Regions from separate parts of the Homo sapiens genome. Here region 2 is linked to region 1. Evidence: promoter capture Hi-C in human tissues and cell types (Jung and others, 2019). All regions are on one chromosome and are shown on one strand. Each heading gives the region's core, a stretch centred on a gene start or on the middle of the fragment in contact. The rest is flanking DNA. Distances are from core to core; before and after follow the strand shown.

The links. Contacts are between HindIII fragments. The study calls those that stand out against the background at their distance.
Region 2: a contact is called between a fragment that was not itself captured here and the fragment with the promoter of PCDHGA1 in region 1, in 4 of the 25 tissues and cell types used here (aorta, dorsolateral prefrontal cortex, hippocampus and 1 more).

What each region holds. Positions count from the first base shown.
Region 1 is chr5:141,328,873-141,335,837 of GRCh38, reverse strand. PCDHGA1 (protocadherin gamma subfamily A, 1) reads right to left here and starts at 5,324. Exons shown (of 4, transcript NM_018912.3): 1 at 2,733-5,324. The coding sequence starts at 5,153. It also overlaps PCDHG@. RefSeq lists a silencer at 1,939-2,168. The HindIII fragment of the contact is 6,267 bases long and covers 2,578-6,965 here.
Region 2 is chr5:141,459,471-141,465,982 of GRCh38, reverse strand. All of the region lies in intron 1 of PCDHGA1 (protocadherin gamma subfamily A, 1), which reads right to left. All of the region lies in intron 1 of PCDHGA2 (protocadherin gamma subfamily A, 2), which reads right to left. The region is part of intron 1 of PCDHGA3 (protocadherin gamma subfamily A, 3); the gene reads right to left. All of the region lies in intron 1 of PCDHGB1 (protocadherin gamma subfamily B, 1), which reads right to left. It also overlaps PCDHGA4, PCDHGB2, PCDHGA5, PCDHGB3, PCDHGA6 and PCDHGA7, and 10 more genes. Among named protein-coding and RNA genes, the nearest start is that of PCDHGC3, 13 kb to the left of the region's middle. The HindIII fragment of the contact is 8,589 bases long and covers 1-6,512 here.

The DNA.
Region 1 (6,965 bases), core at 4,075-6,574:
TGTAAATATCCAAACTTTTTCCCTTTTCTATTTTTAAATGTTTGCTTTGTGATTAAGTATGTGTTGTAAGGCAAGTATATTATTGGTACTTTGCAATTTGCTGAACCCTTTTTTGTAATGACTAGGTAATAAACTTGTAGATTGTCTGCTTGTTCAAGGATGACTATTCCATATTTGTTGTGTGCAGAACGGATCTATTAGAATCCTAATAGATCAAGCTTCTAAATTATGTTGTTCAAATCTTCTTTATGTTAACTAACTTTCTTCCTGTGGGGTCTATTATTTCTTATGGAATTATGTTTAAATATTCCGGTATTTTCTAAGCTATATTTTTCAGTAATAGAAGCTTATATTTTTATATCCTTTTGATCATCTGCTCTTTTTACAACTATAATCAGTTCATTTTTTAAAATCACAATTTGTGTTTGTTACCTTAAATATGACTTTGTTGTTACATTAACATGACTTTCTTTTTTGTGTGTGTACATATATATTTAGTTTCACTGTTTCAGTGTATTTTTATTTTAAGCACGTGTATTATTAGAATATGGATTTTAAAAATCAACCAGTTTTGTAATATTTGTCCTTTAATAGGTAAATGTAGCTCACTTGTATATACACAGAAAAAAAATTATGATTATAAGAGCTGAGAAAGTCCAGAAGTGAGATAACTTAGTTATCAATTGAGAGTATACTCTTGGTACCAAGCAAAAAATAAAAATAAAAATGCAACAGACACACAGCAAGAATGAGAGAAAGTCTTCAATAGTTACCAGAGAGAAAACAGAGATTACCTTAAAAAATAACAGTGTGTTGACAGAAAGTTTCTCACTAGTAACAATAAATTCTACGAGACAAGTGTGTTTTGAAATTTTGGTTTGTATATTTATTTTTAGTGGAAGAGCTCTGTTTGTTTTTAGTTTTAGTTTGTTTTTTTCTCTTCTACACTATATCCCTCTCTCCTTCCCTCCTGGGTTCAGTGCTCATTTGTAATGGTTTTGAAATAGTTTCTATCTGACCTCAGGTCCCAGGCCATAACTAGGTCTCTTAATGACGCTTTAATGATGCACAGCAGTGATATTCTGGATACCACAGCTCACATATGAGATACTTGGTGTTCGCTGTCTCTATCCAGCATCCGTGTCTGTCTCTCTCTCTTGGTCTACACAGCTTACGAAGAAAGTTATAACCACCGGAATTGGGAAACAGCTTTTATTATTATATTTATTTATTTAACAGGGTGTGGCTCTGTCGCCCAGGCTGGAGGGCAGTGGCGCGATCACGGTTCGCTGAAGCCTTGACTTCCTGGGCTCAAGGGATCCTCCCACGTCAGCTCCTGCCCCGCCCCGCCCCGCCCCTCCCCGCCCCGCGTAGCTGGGACTACAGTCGCAGGCCGCCCTGTCCGGCTGGTCTTGAACTCCAGGGCTCCAAGGATCTTTCCGCCTCAGCCTCTCAAATTGTTGGAAATACAGACGTGAGCCACTGCGCCCAGCTAGGCAGCATGTTAATGCATCTTTCTTTTCCTTTTTAACCAGCTGAAGGGCCTCATTGCTTATTTTGGATTCAGGCAGTAAGCCTGGTCCAGATATTTATCTAGTCTGAAGCACTTCTGTCCCTATTACATTGCTGGAGGCAGTTTCCTAACCTTCAATTTCTGCTTTTAAGTCCAAGACTATAACTCACATGGCTTTAGACTAGCTCACCACTTTGCTTTTGCTTTCCTCTTATATTTTATGTATCTCTGTATTTTATTGGAGCAGAGTAAATACATCAAAGCATGGACTTACTCCCCGACCATACTTTTTTTTTCTTCTGAAAAGTTAACACACATTAAAATAGGATATATACTTGATTTTTGTTAGCTGATTTCATTACAGGTATAATGTATAAGTCAGGAGGCTTCAAAGATATTTCTCAAGTTGCATGATAAATTTTGTGTTGTTCATTTTGTTACTTCATACATTACTTAAATAGACGTATTCTTCAGTACAGGCACCACAGCTCACACCTGTAATATCAGCACTTTGAGAGGCTGAGGTGGGAGGATCGCTTGAGCCCAGGAGGTAGTGGCTGCAGTGAGCCATGATCATGCCACTGCACTCTAGCATGACCCCATCTCAAAACCAAAAAAATCTGATAATAAAGATAGAATAAAAGGCTAAAATATTCAACAATAATTTAAAATTGCAGTTTATATAGATCTCTATAATCTTATATGAACACAACTAAAAATACTACTTTAGACAATCTTCACCTCTTCAAATGTCCCCAAATAAACTATCACAGTGTCCTGACAGATGACATCTACATTAAATTCAGGGGTAGATTAGCAGGTACTTATAAAAAGAAAATTTGAAAATAGTGTTAGTCATTTAAATATTGGTGAGCCTTTTCTAATCAAACCTTTTAGCCCAGAGGCAAGTAAGAAAATGTTAGAAGCTAGATCGCCGTTTCTAATGCAGTGCTCTTTCCAAACAGAGATGGCATCTCACACATACCTTCAACCCAACCACCTACATTATGATCACAGTCTCCTTTTCAGTGCAAGAACAATTATAAATATACCTGCATATGAACGTGTAGACTCAATCGTGATTTTGCAGGACTTGTAATAAAAAGCTACAAAGATACATGGGTTAGAAGAACTATCTGTAGCAAAGAGCGAACGCTAGTAAGTTAAATCAAGAATTATTTTTCTCTAGATAGCTGATACATTCATCACAAAAGTTTACCTGAGAAAATGGTTCCTTTTTGTCTTCAAGTAAAGACTGGGGTGCTGATAGAAAACCCTTTTTCTCACAGCTCTCCTGGCTGATGAGTGTGTCCGCATAGTTGGGCTGGGGGAAAATCAGGTGGCTCTTCCGCGAGTCCGCAGTGAGGGAGACCTCGTGGGAATAGGTCTGCAGGAAAGCCCGAACCCCGTCCACGCCCACAAAGTGCGAACCGGGCATGCTCGCTAAGCCGCCTCCCGAAGCCTGTAGCAGACGTGACTTGTGCCAGCGCCGCAGCCTGTGCGCCAGCAGCACGATGACGAAGGCCAGGAAGACGCAGGAGACCGCGGCCGCCGCCACCACCAGGTACAGAGTGAGGTCCGAATCGTTGGGTTTGGCGGAGGGCTCGAGGCTGCCCAGGTCGGCCAGGATGTCGGAGATCCTGTCGGCCACGGCCACGGTGAGCGTGACAGTGGCGGAGAGCGGGGGCTGGCCGTGGTCCTGGACGGCCACCACGAGACTCTGCTTGAGCGCGTCTCTGTCCAGCAGGGCTCGCGCCGTGCGCACCTCGCCCGTGTGCAGACCCACCGAGAAGAGTCCCGGCTCGCTGGCCTTGAGCAGGCGGTAGGACAGCCAGGCGTTCTGGCCCGAGTCTCTGTCCACCGCCACCACCTTGGTCACCAGGTAGCCGGGCTCTGCGGAGAGGGGCGCCAGCTCCACGCCGGTAGAACCATCTGTGGGGAGGGCGGGGTACAGGATCTCGGGCGCGTTGTCGTTCTGGTCCAGCAGGAATAGGCTGAGAGACACGTTGCTGCTGAGGGGCGGATCCCCACTGTCCCGCGCCATCACTTTCAGTTGCATGTCCCGGAACTGCTCATAGTCGAAGGATCGCAGCGCATACAGGACCCCAGTGTCGGAGTTGATGGAGAGGTAGGCAGATAGGGGTGCCCCCTGGATAGTGTCCTCTATTAGGGAGTAAGTGATTTGTGCATTCTCATTGCTGTCCAAGTCGTGGGCCCTCACAGAGAAGATGGAGGCTCCTCTGGGGTTGTTTTCGGGAATGTAGGCAGAGTAGGAGTCCTGATGGAAGACTGGGGAGTTGTCATTGATATCTGTCACTAGTAGTGAAATGTGAGTTTCAGTAGATAGAGCTGGAGTTCCTTGGTCTATTGCTGTTATTGTGATGTTGTACCCAGAGATAAGTTCTCTGTCCAGTGTTCTTTCAGTCACTAAACGGTAATAATTATCAACTAACTTTTCCAATTTAAAGGGTAAATTTCCAGGAATGAAACATGTGGTGTAGCCATTGTCTCCTGAGTCCTGGTCATGCACACTGATAAGAGCAATTATGGTCCCAGGAGGAAAGTTTTCTGGAACTGCAGTGGTGACAGAGGTGATGGTCACTTCTGGGGCATTATCATTTACATCCAAAACTTTGATCAGTACCTTAACTTTAGCCATGAGCCCCGCACCATCCTGGGCTTGAACTTCCATTGAATACATTTTGTATTCTTCGAAATCTAGTGGTTCTTTATTTGATATTTCTCCTGTGTAAGAATCTAAACGAAATATTTGGGCCACTCTGTGGTCTACATTGTGAAAGGAGTACGTTACTTCCCCATTGGCTCCCTCATCAGGGTCAGTGGCATTTACCATGAGCAGCTGAGTACCCAGCGGCACGTTTTCGGGGACATTTATATGGTATTGTGCCTGAGTAAATGCTGGAGGATTGTCATTTGCATCCACCACCTGAATGTAAATTCTGAGGGTCCCTGAACGGACTGGTTCACCCCCATCAGAAGCTGTGAGGATGAGGTGGTGGACAGCTTCTTCTTCTCTGTCTAAGGGACTCTGCAGCACCATCTCTGGATGTTGAGGCCCATCGGCTCCCTGTTGCACATCCAGGGAGAAATGAGGGTTAGAGCTGAGTTGGTAGCTCTGGAGTGAGTTCATACCCACATCAAGGTCTTGCCCAAAAGGCAATGAGACTCTGGTACCTGGAGTCGTTATTTCATTCATTTTAAACTCCAGTTCCTCTAACTGGAATTGGGGAGTGTTGTCATTAATATCAATTATTTCTACTTCAACAGGAAAAAGCTTCATTTTATCCTCAACAAGGATATTAAAACTCACGAGACACGGCATGCTCTGAGCGCAGAGCTCCTCCCGGTCTATCCTGCGCGCGGTGATCAAGCTGCCACTTCTAGGATTCAGAGCGAAAAGCGGCATCCTACCTCTGGAGACGATGCGGACTCCGCCATCTGCCAGCTCCTGGGGTTGCAGCCCTAGGTCCTTGGCGATGTTGCCTACGAAGGAACCTTTGTCTGTCTCTTCCGGCACTGAGTAGTGAATATTCCCAGCCCCAGCTTCCAACAGCAGCTCCAGAGAAAGACACAGAAGCATCAGCCTGCTGCAGCCAGTCAGCTTTTTCTGAATCTTCATGGCTCTCTCACTTCGTAGTTTTCTTCCAGTCCAGTACCAAGGGTATCGTTTCTGCTTTTCTGAGCTGAAATTAACCCAATTTTCAGGAGAATTCTGACTGGAGAGTCATCCAGAAGTAGGATTTAGGCAGTCTTGGACAGTCAGTTTTCAATCTGGCGGTTATGGAGGTTCTAAGAGGCACGAGAGCTTTTTTCTTTTTCTTTTTTTTTTTTTTCCTCCTCCTGACCTGTGTGTACTGCCTGTATCTACCAGATTAGTGAACAGCGGCGCCCACAGTCCTAACCAGTTACTGCATTCCTAGCAAATACTGAAAACCTTCTCATTAACTTGTTATTTTCTTAAGTTTTAGTCTATTGTCAAGGAAATAATTCTACAATATATGTATGAAAAAGAGAAACTATATGTTCACTTCTTTAAATGTGCCTAAATGTCACCAAATTGAAATATACAGGAGAATCCAAGTATTCCCATGTTATCTGCTTTCCAAGTTTGCTATTCAGGGAATTATAGTAAAAACCTAACATTACAATGAGGACAAAATCATCTCTCCACTTTTTCTGTAGTAAAGTTTGACCACTTGGTAATTTCCCAGGCCACATAGAGCAGCTCCCCTTTGACTGGAGGGTGAAAAGTATTAGAGGGAAAAATAATCTTTTAGAATATAAGCTAGACTTTAAAAAAATCATACCATCCCATTTCCTTCCCATTATGATTTGAATATTTATCAGAAACCTTGGGATTTTGAAGAGCATGGTTTAACCCTATCCTTATTTTTCCTCTTTTTTTTTTTTGAAGTGTCTTTGCATTATGTGGGTTTTTAAAAAATTCTTAAGATTCACCAAAGGCAATATATTTTGAAAAAAATAAAACTGGGCTCTTGGAATTTCATTGAAAAGTCACATGAATATATAATTTAGATTTCAAATTTCAGAGACAAAGTCTATGATATTATTCTTCACAGCTGAAAAGAAAAATGGTCTCATCTTTATTTTTAGATAGGCTCTTATAATATGTATTCCTCTATAATCGCACTTAATATTTTCTCCAAGAGAAGTTGGTTTTCTCTTAACAGTATTTTTTAACCAGTTGAGGATGTGGCCTTCTTTTTTTTTTAATCACTGCACTATTAGCAAAGGGTTACTAATTAAAATGTCTCAGGCTTAGAGTGACTTACTTATCTTTACCCCAAAGTTAGAGAAGCATGCTATCTGTACTCCAGAGTCTGATAATTTCAGGAACAAATTCGGCCAGCCAACCCATGGACACCATGACTGAGAAAAGTTAAAAATGAGGAAAGAAAGAAAACAATGAAAGGTCTCAATAATAGTTTTTGGAAAGAGAACTTTAGTTCTTAACCAAATCTACAGTTTCTCAGCTTCTCAAAGACAAGTACATGGAGCCAAAGAGTAGAAATTTAAAGGTGCAATAAATCATCTTCAATATTGCAAGGAAGTAACTCTTTAACAGAGAATGTAACTTTTCAGAATACACATTAATAGGCATAAACTTTTCCCCAAAGAAATTGTGAGCTAATGAGGTAAATTAAAATATACATAAGAACTAGTAAGTAAACCTGTAGAGCTCCCTACTTTCAGCAACCAAAAACACGCAGGAGTGATTTATAAAAGGATGGTAAGTATAAAATAAAAATGTTAAAATATCACACAAATACATTTGAATCAAATGCAACATTTAAAGCTTCATTGCTGCCCACACACAGTGGCTCACGCCTGCAATCCCAGCACTTTGGGAGGCCAAGGTGGGCAGATTACTTGAGGCCAGGAGTTTGAGACCAGCTTGGTCAATATAGTG
Region 2 (6,512 bases), core at 2,910-5,409, 130 kb before region 1:
GCCCGGCTAATTTTTTGTATTTTTAGTAGAGATGGGGTTTCACCATGTTAGCCAGGATGGACTCGAAATCCTGACCTCGTGATTTGCCCGCCTCGGCCTCCCAAAGTGCTGGGATTACAGGCATGAGCCACTGGGCCCAGCCTCAGTTGAAATTTTAAACAAATGTGATCAAGATCCTGAAGGGTTTCTTAAAAAAAAAAAAACTGTAACAAGAGATGAAACATGACTTTACCAGTCTGATCCTGAAAACAAAGCACAAGAGGTGGAAGTGGTGGCATTTGACCAATGCAAAAGCAGACTGGTCAAGAGCAAATGTCATGGCAAGCGCTTTTTTGGGATGTTCAAAGCATTTTGCTGGTTGACTTCCTGGAGGGCCAAAGAGTGATAAGATCTGATTATTATGAGAGTGTTTTGAGAAAGTTACCAAAGCTTCAGCAGAAAAAATGCCTGGGAAAACTTCCCCAGAATCCTTCCTGACCACGACAATGCTCCCGCTCATTCCTCTCATGAAGCAAGGGCAATTTGGTGAGAGTTTTCTTGGGTAATCATTAAGTGCCCACCTTTCAGTGCTGATTTGGCTTCTTCTGACTTGTTTTTGTTCCTAATCTTACAACTTTAAAGGGCACCCATTTTTTCTTCAGTAACCAATATAAAAAATACTGCATTGACATGGCTAAATTCCCAGGACTCTCAGTTCTTTAGGGGTGAACTAAATGGCTAGTATCATTGCTTACAAAAGTGCCTTGAACTTGATGGAGCTCATGTTGAAAAATAAAGCTTATATTTTTATTTTTATCTTTTAATTAAATTTCTTCATAAACATTTAGAGTCCCTTCATATATCCCCTAAACTTTTTACAAATTTAGGCTAAAACACTTAAAAAAAAAACTACTAGAAAAATGAAAATAAGACATGAACAGACAATTCAAAAAAATATATAGGGTCATTTGTGGTGGTTCATGGCTGTAATCTTAGCACTTTGGGAGGCTGAGGTGGGAGGATCACTTGAAGCCAGTAGTTCAAGACAAGCCTGGGCAACATAGTGAGACCTCACATCTCTACAAAAAAATAAAAAAATTAGCTGGACATGGTGGCATCCATCTGTAGTCCTAGCTACTTGGGAGGCTAAGGTAGGAGGATTGCTTGAGCCCAGGAGTGCGAGGCTACAGTGAGCTATGACTGCATCACTGCAATTTGGCCTGGGCAACAGAACAAGATTCCTGTCTCTAAAAAAACAAAAAGATATAAACTGGCTTTTAAACATATGAAAAACTATTTAACCTCATTCATAATAAGAGAAATTTTAATTAAAATTATTTGGAGATATCTTTTTACCCATCAGGTTGGCAACAATTAAAAAGCTTGACAATATACTCTGCAAAGGAGACTATGGGACAATGGACATTCTCATCTATTTGTAGGAATGCAAGATGGGGAATAGCTATATTTAACAAAACTACATATGCCTTTACCTTATGATGCAGCAATCACACTATTAGGAATTTATTATACGTACATACTTCAAAAATAACAACAACAACAACAAACATATATATCTATATATATAGATATATATATATCTCAGGTTCTTCATTAGCATTTTTTATATTGCAAAAATATTGGATGGAAACTACCTAAATGACAAGTCATAGATGGGTTGAACAGATAATGATATGTGCACATACAATGGAGTTTTTTTTTTTGCTTTTTTTTTTTTTTAGACGGAGTCTCGCTCTGTAGCCCAGGCTGGAGTGCAGTGGCGCAATCTCAGCTCACTGCAATCTCCGCCTCCTGAAATCAAGCAATTCTCCTGCCTCAGCCTTCCAAGTAGCTGGGACTACAGGCGCCCACCACCACACCCAGCTAATTTTTGTATTTTTAGTAGAGACGGAGTTTCACCATGTTGGCCAGGCTGGCCTTGAACTCCTGACCTCAGGTGATCCACCCGCCTTGGCCTCCCAAAGTGTGGGATTACAAGCATGAGCCACTGCACCTGGTTTTTACAATGGAGTTTTATGAAGCTATTTTAAAAATGAAGATTTCTATAAATTTATATAGAATGATTTCCAGGATATATTATTAGTACAAAAAGCAAGGTGAAAACTTTTCCTTTCAGTCATGTGAAACCAGATATACCACTATAACAACTGGGAAGTGGATCAAAATGTGTGATAAAAGCTTTTAGACATTTGTTCAAAAGACAGTGCAGGATTCTAACCCATAAGAGAAGAGAAGCAGGCCGGGCGCGGTGGCTCATGCCTGTAATCCCAGCACTTTTGGAGGCCGAGGTGAGCAGATCACGAGGTCATCCAGACCATCCTGGCTAACACGGTGAAACCCCGTCTCTACTAAACAAAATACAAAAAATTAGCCGGGCATGGTGGCAGGCACCTGTAGTCCCAGCTACTCGGGAGGCTGAGGCAGGAGAATGGCATGAACCCGGGAGCCGGAGTTTCTAGTAAGCCGAGATCACGCCACGTCACTCCAGCCTGGGTGACAGAGCGAGACTCCATCTCAAAAAAAAAAAAAAAAAAAAAAAAAAAAGGAGAAGGAAATGAGGATCCGCAAACTAGGATCTCCATTTTTTTTGCCTGGAGACAACTTTCAGACTGTGGGGCAGGAAAGGGGAAATCCAAGAATAACACCATGGTTTTGCTGAGTTGAGGAATAGATATTAGAGTTTGGGGAGATTAGGAGATTGAGGCAGCCAGAATTTATGGGATAGAGTACTAAAGAGAATGGAGCTACACAAAGAACTCCAGGAATATTAATATGGATCCCCAAGTCTTTGGCTAAATAATAATCTGAGCATACATAGAGTGCACTGACACTTTTCTGCAGCTGGGCGAAGAACTGCCAGGGAGCTATTAGCTGAATTCTTGATGGTCACATAGGGCTGGAAAATGTTTGAATTTCATTTAGCCATAATAAAGAGACCCTGCTGAACACTCAGATTAATCAAAAAAGTCAGAATTAAGTGGTAGGTCTAAATTAGCCCAAGGCAAAAGTTACTACAGACCTGTCCTAACAAAGCTTAAAAACAAGCCTTGAAAAGATCAACCTGATCTGCAAAAAACATAATAGCCTTCCAAAACAAACTGCAATAGTTCTTAAAGAAAGACAAAATCCAAACACTCAAAAATATAACATTTACAATGTCTGCTGTCCAATAAAAACATTATTAGACATGCAAATAAGCAACAAATTATGACCCCAAGCCAGGAAGAAAATCATCATAGGAATTACAGAGGTGACAAAATTAGCAGACAAGGACTTTAAAACCTCCATTATAAATGTGCTCAAAAATTTAAAGAAAAATATGAAGATAATTGAGGATGGAAATGAAAGAGTCAAATGGAACTTCTAAAAGTGAAAAATACAATATATGAAATGGAAACTTCACTGGATGGGATTAGCAAATACAGTAAACACTGAAGAAGAAAAGATCACTGAACAACACTCTTACTAACTTGATCTAGTTGACAATTATAGGATACAACAACCACGAGAAGCAGAATACACAGTTTTCAGTTACACAGTTGTGTGTAAGCAACACTCACCAAGATAGACCATATTCTGTGCCATAAAAGAAATGTTAACGAATTTAAAAGAATAGAAACTATACAATGTATATTTTTGGATCACAATACAATTAAATTAGAAATCAGTGACAAATATATTTGGGTAATACTTACATATTTGGTGACTAAACAATACACTTTAGGCTGGTCATGGTGGCTCATACCTGTAATCCCTGCACTTTGGGAGGCCGAGGCAGGCGGATCACCTGAGGTCAGGAGTTCAAGACCAGCCTGGCCAACATGATGAAACCCCATCTCTACTAAAAATACAAAAAATTGGACTGGGTGCAGTGGCTCATGCCTGTAATCCCAGCATTTTGGGAGGCCAAGGCGGGCAGATCACCTGAGGTCGGGAGTTCAAGACCCGCCTGACCAACATGAAGAAACCCCGTCTCTATTAAAAATACAAAATTAGCCTGGCGTGGTGGCATATGCCTGGAATCCCAGCTACTCAGGAGGTTGAGGCAGGAGAATTGCTGGAACCCAGGAGGCAGAGGTTGCAGTGAGCCGAGATCGTGCCATTGCACTCCAGCCTGGGCAACAAGAGCAAAACTCTGTCTCAAAAAAAAAAGAAAAAAAAATTAGCTGGGTGTGGTGGTGGGCACCTGTAATCCCAGCTACTTGGGAGGCTGAGGCAGGAGAATCGCTTGAATCTGGGAGCCGGGATTGTGCCACTGCACTCCAGCCTGGGCAAAAAAAGTGAAACTCTGTCTCAAAATAAACAAACAAAATAACAAACTTTAAAATAATCCATGGGTCAAAGAAGAAATTGCAAGGTGTATTAGAAAATACTTTGAACTAAATTATAATGGAAATATAACATCCAAAATATTATCTTTGCAAAGTACACATCTGACAAAGGACTAGTATCCAGAATCTACAAGGAACTAACAAATCACCAAGAAAAATAAAACACAATCCCATTAAAAAGTAGGCAAAGGACACAAATAGCCATTTCTCAAAAGAAGGTATACAAATGGCCCACAAACATATGAAAAAATGCTCAACATCGCTAATCATCAGGAAAATGCAAATTAAAACCACAACGAGCTACCACCTTGGTCCTGCAAGAATGGCCATTATTAAAAAGTCAAAAAACAATAGATGTTGGTGTGGATGTGGGGAAAAGAGAACACTTACACATTGCTGCTGGGAATATAAATTAGTACAACCTCTATGGAAAACAGTATGGAGATTCTCTAAAGAGCAAAAAACAGATCTACCATTCAATCCAGCAATCCCACTATTGGGTATCTACCCAAAGGAAAATAAGTAATTATATGAAAAAGACACTTGGACACATATGTTTATAGCAGCACAATTCACAATTGCAAAAATGTGAAACCAACCTAAGTCCCCATCGACTAATGAGTGGATAAAGAAAATGTGGTATATATATATACACATATATATATATACACACACACACACACACACACATATATATATACATAATACATATATATACACACACACATATATATATATACACCATGGAATATTACTCAGCCACGAAAAGGCATGAAATAATGTCCTTTGCAGCAACTTGGATCGAACTGGAGGCCATTACTTTAAGTGTGTATATATGTATACATACATATATATACTTTGTGTGTATATATGTATACATACATATGCAATATGTATATGTACACATATATATACAATGTGTATATATGCTTATAACAATAGTTTATTCTCATTCAACTGTTGGTGGATATATAGATATATAACTGTGTTTACAGTTACATATGTGTAAACACAGTTATATATCTGTATCTGTCTATCTATCCATCTAACACAGAGAGCCCAGAAAAAACCCACACCTACATATGTCCATGGCCAAATGATTTTTGATTAAGGTGCTAAGATTATTTGGTGGGGAAAAGATAGCCTTCTCAGCATATTTTTCCAAAGAGACAATTGGATATTCCTTTGGAAAAAAATATGAATCTTCATTGTTACCTCACACCATACACCATACATAAACATCAACTCAAAAGGATTCATAGACCAAATTATAAATGGTAAAACTATAAAACTTCTAAAAGAAAATATAGGAGAAAATCATCATAAGTTTTCAGTAGGCAAGGAGTTTTTGAATAGGACATAAGAAATACAAACTATAAAAGAAAAAATAAATTGGGCTTTATCAAAATTACATCTTCTGCTCTTCAAAAGACACAACTAAGAAAATGAAAAGACAAGTCATAGTCTGGGATAAAATATCCACAAAATATGTATGTGACAAAGAGCTCACATCAAGAATATATATATTACATATATAAAAATCATATATAATTACATGTATAATTATTATTTTTTAGATGAAGTCTCACTCTGTTGCCCAGGCTGGAGTGCAGTGGTGCAGTCTCGGCTCACTGCAACCTCCGCCTCCTGGGTTCAAGCGATTCTCCTGTCTCAGCCTCCTGAGTAGCTGGGATTACAGGCACCTGCCATCACGCCCAGCTACAAGGATATATTTTAAAACTCCCATAGCTCAATTTTAAGAAGGCGTTCAGCTCAGTTAAAGATGAACGAATGCTTCAAGAAGATATACAAATAGACAACACATGAAAAGTTGCTCAGTGTCTCTAGTCAACAGGGAAAAACAGTTGAAACTTCAATGAGATAGTATCACACACCCACTAGAATTGCTAAAATTTAAAAAATTGACAATAGGAAGCATTGGTGAGAAAATGTAGCAAGCGGAACGCTTTATGCATTGCTCATGAAAATGTAAAGTGATATTACCATTTTGAAAAATAGTTTGGCAGCTTCTTATAAAGTTAAGCATATACTTCCCATTTCATATGACCCCCAAAACAATTCTGTTTTGGGGTATTTATCCAAGAGAAATAAAAAAAATATGCCTACAAAAATACTTGTACATGATTGTTCACATCACTTTAATTCAGAATAGCACTAAAC